Linked DNA regions of Homo sapiens: region 1 is linked to region 2. Evidence: promoter capture Hi-C in 16 types of primary human blood cells and fetal thymus (Javierre and others, 2016). All regions are on one chromosome and are shown on one strand. The core of a region is centred on a gene start or on the middle of the fragment in contact, and the rest is flanking DNA. Distances in the headings are between cores, read along the strand shown.

Evidence for each region. The method cuts DNA at HindIII sites, captures the fragments that hold promoters and counts their contacts. A CHiCAGO score of 5 or more calls a contact.
Region 1: a contact is called between the fragment with the promoter of ZNF202 here and the fragment with the promoter of ZBTB44 in region 2, in 1 of 17 cell types (naive CD8 T cells). The highest score is 8.2, in naive CD8 T cells.

What each region holds. Positions count from the first base shown.
Region 1 is chr11:123,740,399-123,743,429 of GRCh38, forward strand. ZNF202 (zinc finger protein 202) reads right to left here and starts at 1,262. Exons shown (of 9, transcript NM_003455.4): 1 at 1,151-1,262; 2 at 19-138. RefSeq lists enhancers at 648-857, 1,847-2,444 and silencers at 1,038-1,167, 1,208-1,257. The HindIII fragment of the contact is 6,844 bases long and covers 1-3,031 here.
Region 2 is chr11:130,313,530-130,316,354 of GRCh38, forward strand. ZBTB44 (zinc finger and BTB domain containing 44) reads right to left here and starts at 1,388. Exons shown (of 8, transcript NM_001301098.2): 1 at 846-1,388. ZBTB44-DT (ZBTB44 divergent transcript) reads left to right here and starts at 1,464. Exons shown (of 7, transcript NR_148980.1): 1 at 1,464-1,586. RefSeq lists enhancers at 542-591, 1,752-1,851, 2,022-2,121 and silencers at 682-1,511, 2,422-2,481. The HindIII fragment of the contact is 9,181 bases long and covers 1-2,825 here.

The sequences.
Region 1 (3,031 bases), core at 12-2,511, 6.6 Mb before region 2:
CCAAGGCTATCCCACAACCTTTCTGAAGTAGCTTCCTGGATCAAGCCCCACGGGGCAGCTTGGAAGAGAAGCTGGGAGGGATGAGGGGCTCCACTAGCATTCCTTGTGGCTTCTGAGTGTAGCTGCCCTGGGTGTCACCTGCAGAGCGTGGATAGAGAAAAAGCAACAGTTCTAAGCCCAGCCTCTAATTGAGAGCCTGGGATCTAGCGCTGCTCCCCAGGACCAAGGTTGTTCAAGAAAGGCTGGGTCTAAGAGTCTCCCTCTGGGGAGGTCAGTACAGATTCCAAGGCAGACAGGGTTATCAAAGCGCCTAGAAGATGAGAACATTCATTGTTCAGAAAAACAAAAATTAGACTGACACCTTTCTGAAGGAACACAGCCTATCCATGGCACAAAAACAAATTTTTAATCAAGACACTCAAGAAGTAGGTATACTCCTGCTAAAAGTAACGCAGGTGCTGAGAAGAGGTGCCAAAACTGGCTGTTAGGAGTGGGAGGAGAGGAAAGTTGCAAGTGGAGACAGCAGCTACTGGCTTGAGGGGACCTCAGGGTCTGTCACAGTGGCAGCTGAAAAGCCTCTGGCCAAATGGACGCCAAGGACTACTATCATCACAGGTGACAAGATCACGGGTGAGTGTATCTGGGTGTGTGCTGGGGGGCTGAGGGGGGCTTGGTGGTGTAAGGAGATGGGGCTAGCCGGGGCAAGGAGCCCGCGGAGATGATCTTAAGCAATCTGAGAGGAGGGGTAAGAAAAAGCTGCGGAAAATAAAGGGGCCTAGACCACTCCTCCCTCGGTTCCGGGGGGACAGTTGGCGCGGAAGCGTTAGGAGGTACGAGGTACGGACTAACTACATTTCTGCAGGCCCCAGGAGGGGGCGGAGGGCGGTGGCTGGAAAGGAAAGGAAGCCGGGAGCGCCATCCGTGTCCCCGGAGATACTGGCTCCGGCCACCAGGAAACACAGAGACCACAACGTCTCGGCACCCTCAGTACACCGCCGCCACCCCTTCCCCAGGACACGGCGATTTCCCCAGACTCTGGGGGGCGGGGTCTCCGGTCCCTCCCCCTCCTCCCCGCCCTGCCCGGCTCTGCCCGATCTGGTCCGGCCCGGTCCAGCCCGGCCCGGCCCAGCCCAGCCCACTCAGGACTCACGGCTCCGACAGCTCCGGCGGCTCCTCCCCTGCCCCGGCTTCTCTCCCACCCACTCCCGACCGAAACAGCGCCGCCGGATCCGAGCCGCGCGGGGCCTAGCGGGTCGGAACACGTGGGGCCTTTGCGCCCGGAACCGGAAGCGATCGCTCGCCCCGCCTTCTCGCCGAGTAGGAGCCTTTCTAGGCTGTGGGAGGTTTGATCCTCTCTATGCGCCCTCCGCGGGTTGCGGCTCAGTGCTCCCCAAGGACCCAGTGCGAAGAAGCCTCGGACCCCACAGCTGCCGTCCGCGACCCCTAACTCCACTCTGCAGCGAATAAATTAACATCTTGGGCCTTTCATTTACAGGCATACCTTCTGCAAGGGTTTTCTTTTTCTTTTCTTTTTTCTTTTCTGTTTTTGATCTTTTGTGTGTTTGTTTTCATTTGGATACCTCTACGTGTTTTTCTTGATTTTTTTTTCTTTGCATTGTCCGCTGCAACATGGTAGAAAAGGGCAGCGTTAGGTTTGAATACTGGCTCTTGCAGTCACCATCAGCAGCAGGGCCTCGGCCGAATCTCTCCATCTTTGAACCCTATTGTGCATCATATAAAACGGGCATAATAATACCGTTACTCTGAGGACTAAATGATACATTGCACATGAACTGAATGGAACATCAGAAGCTCAGAAAGAAAATAGTTATGGTATCACTGTTCTTTCTTTTCCTTTGAGTGTTGCTTCGTATTTCTTTACTTTCAGGCTGTCTTCCCTGATCTCATTTGTTCATTTTTGTCCGTTCGGTGACCTTTCTGCCCATACTTGACATTTTCCTTTGCTCTCTGTCCCTTTTACCCTGTAAGTCACCACTCTCCACGTGCCATGTGCCACTTCCTTTTCATGGGACACATTGCTGGGATCTGTTTACTGGGTTTGAACCAAAGGATTAGTTACTTTTGGTGGAGTGGCAGTGTATTAGCGAAACAGAACTAATAGGTGTGAACCCAGAAGGCAGGACAACTCAAAGCGGGGAGGGGGCTTCCAGGTCATAGGTAGATAAGACACAAATGGTTGCATTGAGTTGCTGATTAGCCTCTCCGGAAGGAGGCAATCAGATATGCATTTATCTCAGTGAGCAGAGAGGTGACTTTGAATAGAAGGGGAGGCAGGTTTGCCCTAAGCAGTTCCCAGCATGAATTTTCCCTTTAGTGATTTTGGGGGCCCCAAATCACTTTCCTTTCACACGGGGTATGTATAAACATATAAAAGGAGATTTATTATAAGGAGTTGGCTTACATAATTATGGACGTTGAGAAGTCCCACCATCTGCTTACTGCAAGCTGGAGAAATAAGGAGGTTGGTGGTATAATTCAGTCTAAAGCTGAAGGCCTGAGAACTGGAAAGGGATTGAGGTGCTGGTGTCTGAAGGCCAGAGAGCAGGAGGAGATGATGTCCCAGCTCAAGAAGAGAGAGGTGAATTTACTTTTCCTCTGCCTTTTTATACTATTTGGGCCCTCAATGGATTGGATGGTGCCTACGCATAGTGGTGAGAGTGATTTTCTTTACTCAGTCTACTGATTCAAATGCTAATCTCTCTCTCTTTTTTTTTTTTTTTTTTTTTTTTGGACAGAGTCTTGCTCTGTCGCCCAGCGATCTCGGCTTACTGCAATGTCTGCCTCCTGGGTTCAAGCAATTCTCCTGCCTCAGCCTCCCGAATAGCTGGGATTACAGGCATGTGCCACCATGCCCAGCTATTTTTTTTTTGTGTGTGTGTATTTTTAGTAGAGAGGGGGTTTCACCATATTGGCCAGAAACACCCTCACAGACACACCGACTAATAATGTTTTCTGTTGTCTGGGCATCCCTTAGCTAGTCAAGTTGACACATAAAATTACCCAATACAAA
Region 2 (2,825 bases), core at 138-2,637:
GAATTCCAACTGAACACCTAGAGAAAAGGAAATCAAAATCGTGCAGCTTGCTTCCGGTATCAGCCGATCTCCAAATAAAGCATTAAGAAAATAAGTGGAAGTTATGGAGAATTTCTTCCTGACTTCAAGAGATTATCTACTTACACGCTGAAAAAGAAATTAAGTTTTTGTCTTCATTTTTGTAAGTTCCAAAAAAAAGCACACAATTACGGGGTTTTATTGTAAATTCTGCTTGGATTCATAGAACTCACATGGACGCAATTTCCTTTTAATCAGTTCTAACGTACCTGTCATTTCTCGAGGTAACCCCTTTTTCTGATTAGGCCAGCAATAAAACGACTAGATGCAGAGTGATCCTCAGGAAGGAAAGGAAAAGAGGTGTGTGTGTGTGTGTATGTGTGTGTGTGTTTGTGTGTGTGTATATATATATATATATATTTTTTTAAAGAAGTGCCATCTTTTTCTTTCTGTACCAGAGAAAAAGCAGAAGGGGAAAGGAGGAAAAAAAACAGGTCTGAGCCTCCCGGGTTCGACCAGGTGAGAGGTGGCAACACTCCGGCCGCTCCGGGTTAGGGTGTTGGGCAAATGGGCGTGCAAAGGACGGGCAGCTCCCTGGAAGGTCGGGGTAACTGCTCCGGGACCGCGGGGCCCAAGGCCGGTCTCCTCCCAGAAGGATTAAATGCCACCGAGGGGATCCCGTGGGGTGTCTCCCGGCGCGGACTAGGCTGACAGACCCGGCTCTCCGCTCCCTTCGGCGCCAGGTGGGGGCCACGCGGTGTCAGCCACGGGCAGCGTGCAGGGGCCGTCCCCCGCGCGACCGGAGCCCGCCCTCCCCTCCCCGTTACCTGCGGGCGGCGGCGCCGGGCCCGGAGGCCTGCTGCTCCTCCTCCTTCTCCCGCCAGGCTGGGGCGGCGAGGCGGCGGCGGCGGCGGCCCGGGGGGAGGGGGCGGAGCGCGGCTCGCTGCCTCTCTCCTCCCCCGGGAGGCTCAGGGGCCCCTATCTCGGGCCGCCGCGCCTAGGCCCGTGAGCAGCCTGTGGTGGGGCATGGCGGCACAGCCACCGGCGTGCCCGCGAGTGGGAGTGCGAGGAGGCGGGGAGGGAAGCACCCCCAGCGCTCGGAGGGGCCAGAGGGGAGGAGCGAGGGGGCCCGGGAGCCGCGCGCTGGCGACCGTTGGGGACGGTTGGCCGAGGGCAGGCGGTTGTTTGGGGAGCGCGGCGACGGCTCGCGTGTTCCCAGCGGGGCGGGGTGGGGAAGGGGAAGGGGACTGAGGGGAGGGGAGGGGGAGGTTGGGAGGGAGCCGCCGCCGCGCGCGTGCGGCCGGCGCCGCCGCCGTTGCCGCTCCGCTCACTCCAGCCTGTTTGGGGGCACTTTGTTTGTGTCCCACAATGCTCTGCGCCGGCGGCCTGGCTGGGGAAGGGGAGGAGAAGGGGGCGGGGCGGAGCGCGCTCGGGGGCGGGGCTCGGGGCGGGGAAGGAAACGTGATGATTGCGCAAGCGCAGAAAATGGGCCCTCTTGGCCGTCGGGACTTGTACTGTTGGTGACTCCGTCTCCTTAGACGGTGGAGCCTGCGTGACCCAGAAAGGCCGTGAGTCTTGACACTGTATTTTTGCATATGTGCGCACATGTGCCGATTTACATTCACATGCCCCATAAGCCCTGTCCCATTTGTCCTTCCTCTAAGCCGTCCTCTTACCCAGTTCCCCTCTCACACCTGAGAAGCATTTCTCCGCAGGAGTCACATTTATAGCATTATTTTTTTCTTCGAACTAAAAACATAACTCCTATTTTCTCGGGTAGTTTTTGTAGGGAGGTCGAAATAGAAACACTTCAGCCCCTCTTCGGCGAGGGAGGTTAGTTGGTAAGGTGCCCATTGTTCACCCATGGAAACAGGCCTGCCAAGGGCCGCCCCGCAGACAGGTGAGCCCGCGCCCCCGTCCTGGGCGGACTGCGACATGCGGCGGGTGTCTGGATTGCGTGGCTCCTCGGGCCTCCTCGCAGTGCTTGCTCTCTTCCGTTCTAGCACTTGCCTCGGTGACCTGGCAGGACGTGCGGTTCTTGAGATGAGTGGAGAAACGGACTCCCAGGTCCCTCTCGTTCTTCCAACACAGGGACAGCTAGAGCTGCTCCAAAAATATACCCTACTTCTTCCACAACCGTGAATCTGTCATTTTTACTGCACCATCACTTACTTCCTGGCCTTCCCGGAGGAAGTGTGCGGGCCTCCCCGAAGTAACCGGTACCGCCCGGGGGGTTTTGAAGTTCTTGGTCAACTGCAAAATCAATCAACCTAGTTAACTCCTAGGGCCCTAAGTCTTGGCTTCCCCTGGCCAGGCGGGCGAGCGCTCTCCACACCGCCCCCGGAGGTCATAGGGGTTCCCGGGACTGCAGGCGGCAGCGCCCCAGGTGCCTGGGGGCGGGCGGGGTGCGGGCAGGTGCTCCTTGGGCGCTTTCTGTTTTCCCACGCCTCCAGTTTGCAAACCGAAAGACTTCTTTCCAGAGGGTTTTGTGCAAGGTGGGTGGACGTCCCGCTGAAGTAGAGTGGATTTTCCTTTTGAAACACTTGGCAACATCTCACATTAATTCACTCTGAGAGACAAGCAGCCAAGCACCTGAACACCCTGACACTTGCAATCTTCTTTAGGAATAAAGGCAATAAAAACAACTTCTGTTTTTATAGTCCTTCGCAGTTTCCAACAAGTTTTCAAGCATGTATAATGTTATCTAATCCTTACGGCAACTGTAATTCACAGGTTTTATCACAGGTTTCTATTATTATTCCCACTATCATTCTTATTATTCCCATTTCAGAGATGAGAAAAATCAG